Linked DNA regions of Homo sapiens: all the other regions are linked to region 1. Evidence: promoter capture Hi-C in human tissues and cell types (Jung and others, 2019). All regions are on one chromosome and are shown on one strand. Each heading gives the region's core, a stretch centred on a gene start or on the middle of the fragment in contact. The rest is flanking DNA. Distances are from core to core; before and after follow the strand shown.

Evidence for each region. The method cuts DNA at HindIII sites, captures the fragments that hold promoters and counts their contacts. A contact is called where the count stands out against the background at its distance.
Region 2: a contact is called between a fragment that was not itself captured here and the fragment with the promoter of DLGAP1 in region 1, in 1 of the 25 tissues and cell types used here (dorsolateral prefrontal cortex).
Region 3: a contact is called between a fragment that was not itself captured here and the fragment with the promoter of DLGAP1 in region 1, in 1 of the 25 tissues and cell types used here (H1 embryonic stem cells).

What each region holds. Positions count from the first base shown.
Region 1 is chr18:4,453,475-4,457,077 of GRCh38, reverse strand. DLGAP1 (DLG associated protein 1) reads left to right here and starts at 1,771. Exons shown (of 13, transcript NM_004746.4): 1 at 1,771-2,072. RefSeq lists a silencer at 1,622-1,751. The HindIII fragment of the contact is 8,504 bases long and covers 377-3,603 here.
Region 2 is chr18:4,129,827-4,133,429 of GRCh38, reverse strand. All of the region lies in intron 2 of DLGAP1 (DLG associated protein 1), which reads left to right. Among named protein-coding and RNA genes, the nearest start is that of DLGAP1-AS5, 130 kb to the left of the region's middle. The HindIII fragment of the contact is 4,071 bases long and covers 1-3,603 here.
Region 3 is chr18:4,724,033-4,727,635 of GRCh38, reverse strand. No RefSeq gene overlaps it. Among named protein-coding and RNA genes, the nearest start is that of DLGAP1, 270 kb to the right of the region's middle. The HindIII fragment of the contact is 3,072 bases long and covers 465-3,536 here.

The DNA.
Region 1 (3,603 bases), core at 522-3,021:
CTATAATAATTCTTTTTTTTTTTTTTTTTTGAGAGTCTCGCTCTGTCACCCCGGCTGGAGTGCAGTGGTGTGATCTCGGCTCACTGCAATCTCCACCTCCCGGGTTCAAGTGATTCTTATGTCTCAGCCTCCAGAGTAGCTGGGATTACAGGCGCCCACCACCAACCCAGCTAACTTTTGAATTTTTAGTAGAGATGGGTTTTCACCATGTTGGCCAGGCTGGTCTTGAACTCCTGACCTCAAGTGATCTGCCCATCTCGGCCTCCCAAAGTGCCAGGATTAGAGGTGTGAGCCACTGAGCTGGGCCCCTATAGTAATTCTTGAATTGTCTGAGAATATCTTTTAGATCATTGCTAAAGCGTCGGTGCTCATGATATTACAATGCTGAGAATTTACCTCCATTTAGTGGTTTCAGTAATTGTTATTTTCTTTAATGGAAAATCACTCAGTGAAATTGCAGGAAAGAGGTTATTTATCTGAGTCATATTTTTATGAAAACTGTTTTTCACTTCCTTGCATTTTTAGAAGTGTTGTCTTTAAAAGGATATTCTATTAATATTTATAATTAGACATCACACAAAACAGATGCTAAATCTTATGCTATAACTTCTGGATAAAATTACATAAAGATTATGTACTTTTTGGCATAATATTCCCTCAGGAAGCTGTAGAACAAAGGACATTCTCCATGAAGATGCCATTTCTTTTTTTAATAGAAGGAAATAATAAGGCAGTGATTAACCACGATTATTTTAACTACTGTAACGTTTGCAATTAAGTGGGCAGCGCAGGAGCTCAATAAATACTTAATTGATTTACTTTTTTCTCTCCTTGACCCACATCGCAATTCACCCACTCACGCCGCTATCCCTATTCTAACTTTGAAACCAAGTGGATTCTCTCTGTTTTCAGTTTGTGGAAGCGTGGTGCTCAGCCTGTGTGGAGGGGCCTGGCTTCCAAGTGTACTTGGGGTGGAACCTGGGGACTTTACCGAGGGCACAGGTCAGGAGATGAGATTCGTTTCGCTTTTTGAATTACCTTTTGGCCTGTACCAAGATGAACTGGTGGGATATATAGTGTCATCGAACCCGGGAGAGTTGTTGTGGAGGTGAGGAAACAGCTCTGAGGGATAACGGTTTGAAAGTAGTGGCGCTGGGGACGAACATGGGTCCCTGCGAGTCTGAGACTCTCTATTGCCCCCATCTCCTTGCTGCCGATTACTTCTTCAAAAATTCTCCTAGGGACCCTGAGGAGGGACGGGAGAGGTCAGCAAACCCTCTGTCCACCAACTTGATTTCCTGTGATACAAAGTGTCATGAGTTCTCCTGCTTTCCTCCCTTAAAAAAGACAAGATTAGGAACAACGGCTGGCAAGAGAGGAGGGGAAAGCTTAATTCTCCACAGATGCTGCGCAAGGGAACCAATGGGTCACGCCCACTCACGGGTGGCCGCCTCTCTGTTCCATCCCGGGGATGTTGGGCTTTCCCCTCGGTCCGGGGCGAGCGCACTTCCCACCCGGAGACTGAGCGGGCAGCACTCGCAGGCCAGGAGCGCGTTCCGGGAGGCGCCGGCGCCTCCCCGCGGCCTGGGCGCACGTGCCTGGGCTGGGGCCGGAGCCCGCGGTCGCGCCGCGCCGTAGTAGCTGGGGCGGGTGGGAGCGGCTGGCTCCGGGCCGCGGCCGCCGCCCGCCCGCCGGCTCCGGTGGTTGGGCGGAGGAAGCGCGGGACTCCTCCTCCCCACCGTATTAACATGCACCCAGGGGCGGGTCACCAGCCCAGCCTTGCAGCCCCAGCCCGCCGCGTCCCGGCGCTCAGCCTCCGCTCCAGAGGCGAGCGCTGCGCTTCGGGCGCCGCAATCTCCAGGACACGGCCTCGCGGACACCTTCCGCCTCGGGGAATCGGCAGCATAGGCGGCGCGAACGGCCGCCGCCGCCTCGGCTCCTCTCTCGAGTCCTTCCCGTCACCTCGCTGAGAGCCGGTCCTGGTCGCGGGGACATCTCTCTCCTTCCTCCGAGGCTCGTGGGACCAACGGACGGACGCAGCCAGCGAGGGCCGGACTGCGGGACGCGGCCAGGTAACGCCGGGCTGCGCCGCGGGGCTGGGGCGTGCGCGGCGGCGGCGGTCGCGGCGCGCTGGGTGGCTCCTGGCTGCTGCCTGCCGCGCGGTCGCCGCTTCCCTCGCCCGCGGAGGGGCTGCGGGCTGGGCTCCCCCGGCCGCTGGCTCGAGAGTCCGCGCTCCTTACCCTTTCAGCCGCCCGGGGTGCACTCCCGGGCCCTCCGGGTAACCTGGGATCTCGGGGGCGAGCGCGTCCTCTCCGGCCATGCGGTCCTCGCGGCTCCCCACGGGGACCCAGGCAGGGGAAGGATTTCTAATTGCGACAGGGTCCCGGAAGGGGGAGGGGAGGAGAACACCGGTCCCCTGTCCCGGTCATGTCCACCGGTCAAATTCGCACCCCCACCCCACCCCCGATGCACCTTGCAGGGGAGGAGGGGGCTGCTCCCCGCAGGGCTTTCTCGGCAGGCTCCTGGGTCGTTTGCAAAGCAAGTTGTTGCACTAGCTTTTTGGGTGACATTTTGGCATTGTGGAAAAGGACCAACTCCCCCGTGCGTTTGTAAGAGAAAGCCAAAGAAACAGAGACACAAAGACAGGCACAGAGAGAGAGAGAGAGAGAGAAATGGGGTCCAAGGAGGAGGTCACTGGAGAGTCGCCCCCTGCCCGCGGCCAAGGCCAATTCCCGGAGAATCGCGGGGCGGGCCGGGAGACCCGACATTCAGCGAATTGAATGAGCCGGGCTGGAACCAAGGCCAAACAGGGACCTCTCCTCTGGGCTGGGCGAGATAACACATTGCACTTTCATTGAGGGGCGGCTGCAGCTGGGAGAGGCACCTTCGGAGGGCCCGCGGCGATGAAGACCCTGCTTTCAGGACTTCGGCTGCTGCGCTTTTTGCGGAAGGCGCGCTGTCCCGGCCTCGCTGGGTGGCACCGGGAGGCCGTGGGAAGGGGTGGCCCGTGGCTCGGCTGCCGGCGCCGGAGACACTGAGTGCCTGTGTCCGAGTGCCGCGCTCGCCCCCGGCTGCAGGGCTTGCCTCCAGCCCGACCGTAGCGCTGCGGAATTTTCTGCTAGAGAAGGGGAGGATGTGCGGAGGGCAAGGGGTTAAAGGTAGCCAGGCGGCAAGCAGTGGGACGCTGGGTGGGAGATGTCACGTCTTTTGTGGATCCAGGCGAGACTCTTCACTCCTTACTCCTGACACAGAGACTGACTCCCGGTCGTGGGAGGTGAATGCTCCCTGCCTCCTTCCATAACACGTGAAGTTAGGGAATTACGAGGAAAGACATATAATAAAAGTACCAATTAAAGACAGATCTTTTAGCTTTTGTGGTCTTCGTGAATGGCTTCGTAGAAGGTGAGGATAGATCAGTCTAAGATGTGGTTAGACATGGAGATGAGAAATGCTGAGAACTAGGAAAGCGATTTTAGGTCCTAAGGCAAACATCCTGCAAATTATTTTTTACCCTGAAAGAGCTGTTCTAAAAAGAACAGCCCTTTGACTGTTATTTATAGCACGATTTCAGTTCAGGAAACGACTTTCTATTGGCCTAGGTCA
Region 2 (3,603 bases), core at 536-3,035, 320 kb after region 1:
AGGCTTTTAAGCAGGGACTGGAGAAACAGGCACATGATCAGATTTTATTTTACTAAATAGTTCTGATAGGCAAATGGTGAATGGATTAGATGGACTTGAATCTGAGGCAACCCTTGTACCTCTGGTGTTGGGGCAGTGAATCGTTGGCACTCATGAGCCCTGTTGGAAGCCCTTGACTTAGCATGTGCTGTGCTCTCCTCATGGCATGTTCTTACTGGATTTCTCTGTCTCCCAAACCTCCTTCAAGGCACTTCTCTATTGTCACCTTCCTGGGGGAGGCTGAGTCTCTCCTCCACACTCATGCAGCCTCTACTCAAAGCGCTTAGGGTGTTGCAAGCCTGTCATGTTGCAGCCCGTTGTGCAGTGATTCTCACAAAATCTTGCTGAAACAGTTCTACCCCCATTTCAAAGATGAAGAAAGTAAGTCTCACAGAGTTGATGTGACTTGCCTCTCTAGATTGTATCTGAAGTATCCTTGCATTACCAATGCTGGTAACTTGCAAATGCTCAATAAATGTGTAACAAGTACATTTAATTACCTTTACCTGTTAGTATGTTTTATTTTATTAAAGCTCCTGGATAACAGGAATTATGCTTTTGAAGCTTTCGTAATACCCAGCAACATGTATGGCACGCAGCAAATGAAATTACTTGATTCCTTTAACAGATTTTCATTTTCTGTTGTTTTCCTCTTTTCATTTTGAATACGATACTTTAGAGTAGAATTTTAAGTGGGAACTCTTTTGCCAGAAATCAGCAGGACACCAGGCTCTCTTGGAAGACCATTTCTTTTGTAGGATGATATGATGCTTATATGTTAGACAACTATTGTACCTGGCAGAATGAAAGTGCAGGTGGAAATAGGGTTGTCAACTTTTATTCTCACAATACCTTATAATATAGGTATTATTTTCTCCCCATTTTACCAATGACCAAGAAAGACACAGAAAGGTTAAGTAATTTCCCCTAGGGTCACACAGCTAGAAAGTGGCAGAGCTATAATTTGAACCCATAGACACCATAGTTTAGAGTTTATGTTCATTCACTCAATTAATAAGCGTTTTATGCCCTAATATAGGCCAATCATGAATTTACCCTGTAATAGATGGTCAATGAATGTGTACTTAGTGATTATACAATGTGAGTGCTTAGTCAGGGTCTTCACTAAATGATATATAAAAGTAGATATATGGCTTAGTATGGTTGAATCATTTCAGTGAAAAGAATGAATTGTCTAAAGCATCCATTTTTAGTTTTCAGATTTTACATGCTGTACCAATTCATCCTCAATTAAAAGAAACCAATTGCAAAGTGACTAGGAAATAGTCAATTATTGTTTTAGCTGCCAAGCTTCAAGAATTAGCATTCTAGAATTTACAAAAATGTTAAGCCAGGAAAAAAAAAAGTCATAAAACACCATTTCAACCGCTTTTGAAATTCTGCCAGATACTAGTAATTGTATTATAATTTAAATTTTGGAAACTTAGAATTTTAGAGTTGGATGGGAACTTTGGAATCATCTGTGCCAGCTGCGTACCTCATGCCAGAAGCATTCATACAACATTTTAAAAATAAGATCTTTGACAATGTTCTTTTAACATTTGCACAGTCAATAGAAACAGTTATAGATTTCTTTACGCTATCACTTAAATTTGTGCCTATGGCTAGTAAAATACGATAACCTCTAGCTAATCCAATCCAGCAGTTTCTTGTCACCCTTTCCTGGCTCTTTCTCTTGCCCACGTTTGAGAAATTGGCTTGATATTTTGGAGTGATTCTTCTAGATATTATTGAGCATTGTCCTCTAGTCCTCTAAAGCAGGAGTCAGCGGACCTCATCTCGTGGATCAAATCTGGCCCATCTCCTGTTACTGTAAATAAAGCTTTACTGAGACACAGCCACACCTGTTCTCTTATGTATTGTCTGTGGCTGCTTTTGTTCTAGAAAAGCCAAGTAGGGTACTGGCAACAGAGGAAGTATGGCCCTTAGAGCCATTTACTCTCTGGCCCTTTGAGAAAAAGCTTTCTAACCTGTGCTTTAAAGTATTACAGTTCTTCGCATGTTTTACTTTTAAATATCACTATTTCTTATTCCATTTGTCATGTGGAATAAAATGATTGTGATGGCCTGAATGACATGAGCCCACACATGGTTTGACTTTCTTCTAATGTTTAGTAATTAACTGTTCTTGCTCTCTCTCTTACACGTGCTTGCACGCACACACACACACACGCCCACGTTTTTTTCCTGAAGCTCATAAACTGGAGACAATAACGGTCTTTGTTTCTTTCTGTGAATGTCTGAATGTCTGCAGTTATCTTGGGATATAAATAGTTGCATAATATATTTCTGAAAAAAAAGACACTGTAATGCTGTTTGTGATCATAAAAGACATTGTTTATCAATATTACATGTGTTTATGGCTCTGGTTTTTTTAATACAATTATATGCAAATAGTCCCTTCTTGGGTAAATCCTTGTCATATTTTCCTGCAATTCCCCCTGCTGGCCACATCCTCGCCAATCAGAGTGGATGATTTTCTCACAGTTTTTGCAACAGGCCAACTTCTTGCTAGGCATTCTCTGGTTGTTTTCCTGCCTCCTCTGTCCTCCATTAAAAGATCTTTGCCAAAATGTCACCTTCTCAGAACAGCCTTCCCTTACCTGTAACGGCTCCCTCGGCTCTTTCTCTGTGATGACCCTGACATTAGTCGCAATGTGCCGCTCTCTTGTGGTCCGTGTTCATGTTCTGTGTGTATGTGTGTGCGATGGGAGGGTGTGGTCCTGCCCCTTCTACTGGAATGTAAACTTCACAAGAACAAGGACTGAATCTGTCTTCCTCACCACTGTCTTCCTAGATTCTAATATTGTAAAGCATTTAGAAAACAGAAAGTGGCACATAAATGACAAGTGATTCAATAAATAAATATAAAATAAATGAATGTCCTGAACTTACAAGTGTTGAAATGGTAAGAGTTTCTAATCACATCTAGATGTCACTGGGATCTTCACTCAATTTTGCTGATGTCACTTACACATTCACTTACTAATCCATCACTTACTATTAAATAATCACTATTCCAGGTACTATCTGTGTTCGTGTGTTCCTTTCTTTCTTCACTTGAGGTAATATGAGTATATTGGTATCATCAGTGCCTCTGGAATTTACTCATTCTGAAAATTTGGGAAATAGGAGATAGTTACCTGTCTGTATAACTGAAAAGGTTTTGTTAGAGTACATGAAACTTTTACTCTAGAACAAGAACAGCTTGAAAAACCAACACGGAAGGAAAATATTTAATGTTCTTATAATAAAACATGTAATGATGTTCTTGCAGTGAAATTGAACAGACTATGATCATTTAAATCACAATGTTCTGGAAGGTTTGGACATGGTGAAAAGCTGGTCAAATGAGGGCACCATTAAGTTTTTCTAAGAAAATATAATGCTTCTGTTCAGCATGCTCCGGACAATGCCCAGAATGTCCCATTTAGATATGTCATCAATAGCTAAGGATAGTACTGATTATGTTGCATTCATGTGAAATCTAGTTCTTTACCAGGTGACCAAAACACTTTGAGACATTATTTTATATATTCCTGT
Region 3 (3,603 bases), core at 751-3,250, 270 kb before region 1:
ACAATCCCTGGAGACCACTGATCTTTTTTCTCTCTATAATTTTTCCTTTTCCTGAACATCATATAGTTGGAATCACACAATATGTAGTCTTCTCAGATTGGCTTCTTTTACTTAGTAATATGCATTTAAGATTCTTCCAAGTCTTTTCATGGTTGGATAGCTTATTTCTCTTTATCACTGAATAATATTCCATTGTCTGCATATACCACAGTTTATTTACCAGTTCACCTCCTGAGGAACTACTTGATTGCCTTCAAGTGTTGGCAATTATGAATAAAGATGCTAGAACCATATTGTGAAAGTTTTTGTTTGGACTTAATTTTTATTTATTTATTTATTTATTTTTGAGACAGAGTCTCACTCCGTGGCCCAGGCTAGAGTGCAGTGGCGCAGTCTCAGCTCACTGCAACCTCCGCCTCCTGGGTTCAAGCACTTCTCTGCCTCAGCCTCCCAAGTAGCTGGGATTACAGGCACCCGCCACCACACCCGGCTAATTTTTTGTATTTTTTAGTAGAGGTGGGGTTTCACCATCTTGGCCAGGCTGGTGTTGAACTCCTGACCTTGTGATCCACCTGCCTTGGCCTCCCAAAGTGCTGGCATTACAGGCGTGAGCCACCGCGCCTGGCCTGGACTTAATTTTTCAACCCATTTGGGTTTATATCAAAGAGTATGATCACTGGATTGTATAGGAAAATCATGCTTTTTTTTGTTTGTTTGTTTTTGTTTTTTTTGTAAGAAACTGCCAAACTGTCTTCCAAAGTGGCTGTACCATTATGCATTCCCACCAACAATGGATGAGAACTTCTGTTGCTCTACATCCTCACCAGCATTTTGTGTTGTCAGTGTTTTGGATTTGAGCAGTTCTTATAGGTGTGTAGTGGTAATTCACTGTTGCTCTAATTTGCATATCACTAATGTCATATAATGTGGAACAACTTCTCATATGGTTATTTGCCACATGTATATCTTCTTTGATGAGATGTCTGTTCAAGTTTTTTTTGCCCATTTTTAAATCAGGCTGTTAGTTTTCTTATTGTTTTTAGAGTTCTTTGTGTATTTTGGATAACAGTCTTTTATCAGATAATTCTTTTACAAATGTTTTCTCCTAGTCTATGGCTTGTCTCCTCATTCTCCTGACAGTGTCTTTTGCAAAGCAGAGGTTGTTTATTTCATTAAGGTCAGGACTATATTTATTCTATGGCATACATCTTTGGTGTTGTATCGAAACATCATTGCCATACCCAAAGTCATCTAGATTTTCTCCTATGTTATCTTCTAGGAGTTTCATAGTTTTGAATTTTACATTTGGCACTTTGATTTCTTTTGAGTTAATTTTGTGAAGGATATGAGTCTGTGTCCCCAGATTTTGTTTTTTGTATGTGCGTTCCAGAATCACTTGTTGAAAAGACTATATTTTGTCCATTGTATTGTCTTTGTTCCTTCGTCAAAGATAAGTTGATATTTCTGTGTGTCTGTTTCTGGGCTGTCTATGCTGTTCCTTGGATCTATTTGTCTATTTTTCCACTAACACCACATTGTCTTGATTACTGTAGCTTTTAGTCAGGTAGTGTCAGGTTTTCAACTTTGTTCTTCTCGTTCAGGATTACATTAGCTATTCTATTCTTTTACCTCTCTCCTTGTTTGCTTTAGAACAACTTTGTGGATATCCAAAAAATAATTTGCTAGGATTTTGTTTGTGATTTTCTTGAACCTGTTTATCAAGTTGGGAAAAACTGACATCTTGAAAATATTGAGGCTTCCTCTTCATGAACATGGACTATTTCTTTATTTAGTTCTTTGATTTCTTTCATCAGAGTTTTGTAGTTTACTTTATATAGATCTTGCACATACTTTGTTAGATTTATAACAATATTTTACTTTAGAGGGAGCGATAATGTAAATGGTATTGTGATTTTAATTTCAAATTCCACTTGTTTGTTGCTGGTATAAAGAAAATTAACTTTTTTATGTTAATTTTGTATTCTACAATCTTGCTATAATTGCTTATTAGTTCCAGGAATTTTTTTTTATTCTTTTGGATGTTCTGTGCAGACAGTTATGACATCAGCAAGGAGAGACAGTTTTATTTCTTTTTCTCAATCAGCATACCTCTTATTTCCTTTTCTTTTGTCATTACATTAACTAGGACTTCTGCTATGATATTGAAAAGACGTGATGAGAGGGGACATCCTTATGTTGTTTCTGATCTTAGAAGGAAAGCTTCTAATTTCTCACCATTATGTATGATGTTAGCTGTAGAGTTTTTGTAGATGTTCTTTATCATGTTGAGAAAGCTTCCCTCTGTGAACCCTGAATATCCGAGACAAATATTTAATTTAGAAAGTTTATTTTGCCAAGGTTGAGGATGTGCATCTGTGACACAGCCTTAGGAGGTCCTGACGACATGTGCTCAAGGTGGTCAGAGCACATTTTGGTTTTATACATTTCAGGGAGACATCACACATCAATCAACATATGTAAAATAAACGTTGGTTCAGTCCAGAAAGGCGGGACAACTCAAAGCAAAGGCAGGACAACTGGAAGCAGGGAGAGGCTTCCAGGTCATAGGTAGATAAGAGAAAAATGGTTGCATTCTTTTCAGTTTCTGATTAACTTCTCCAAAGATGGCAATAAGATACACATTTATCTCAGTGAGCAGAGGGGTGACTGAATAGAATGGGAGGCAGGTTTGCCCTAAGCAGTTCCTATCCTGACTTTTCCCTTTAGCTTAGTGATTTGGGGCCCCAAGATTTATTTTCCTTTCATGGTTCTATTCACAAATTTCTGAGAGATTTTATCATGAATAGGCGTTGGAGTTTGTCCAGGGTTTTTTTTCTGCAGCTATTCATATGATCATGTAATTTTTCTTCTTTAGCTTGTTGATATGATAGATTGAATTGATTTTTGAATGTTAAACCAGTCTTGCATAACTGAGATAAATCTGACATGGTCGTAATGTATAATTCTTCTAATGTATTGCTGGATTTAATTTGCTAGTATTTTGTTGAAGATTTTTGCCTCTACGTTCATGATAAATATTGGCCTGTAGTTTTCTTTTCTTGTAATGTCTTTGTTTGGTTTTAGTATTAGAGCAATGCTGGCCTCATAGAAAGAGTTATGAAATATTTCCTCTGCTTCTATCTTCTGGAAGACATTATAGAGAACTGGTATTATTTCTTCTCTAAATGTTTGATAGAATTTGCCAGTAAATTATTCTGGGCCTGGTGCTTTTTGTGTTTTGGGGTTATTAATTACTGATTTAATTTCTTTACTAACTACAGGCTTATTGAGATTGTCTCTTCAGTCTTATTTTAAAAAGCACAATCCTGTCTTGTCACTGCTCTGCCTAACATATTATAATGATTCCCCATTGCTTTTAGGATAAAGTCCATATCTTTAAGATGAATAGTAGCCTGCGTGATCACCCCCTTCATTCCTCTACAGCCCTGTCTCACTTTGCTTTTTAGATCACAACTACATTGAACTTTTTTTAGTTCCTTGAAGGTTTAACCTTCATGGTGTTTAATATCTGGTCTTTCATCTGTCCATAACACCCTTGTCCCAGATTCCTTTACCTAGGTAATAAAAATGCACTGACTCATC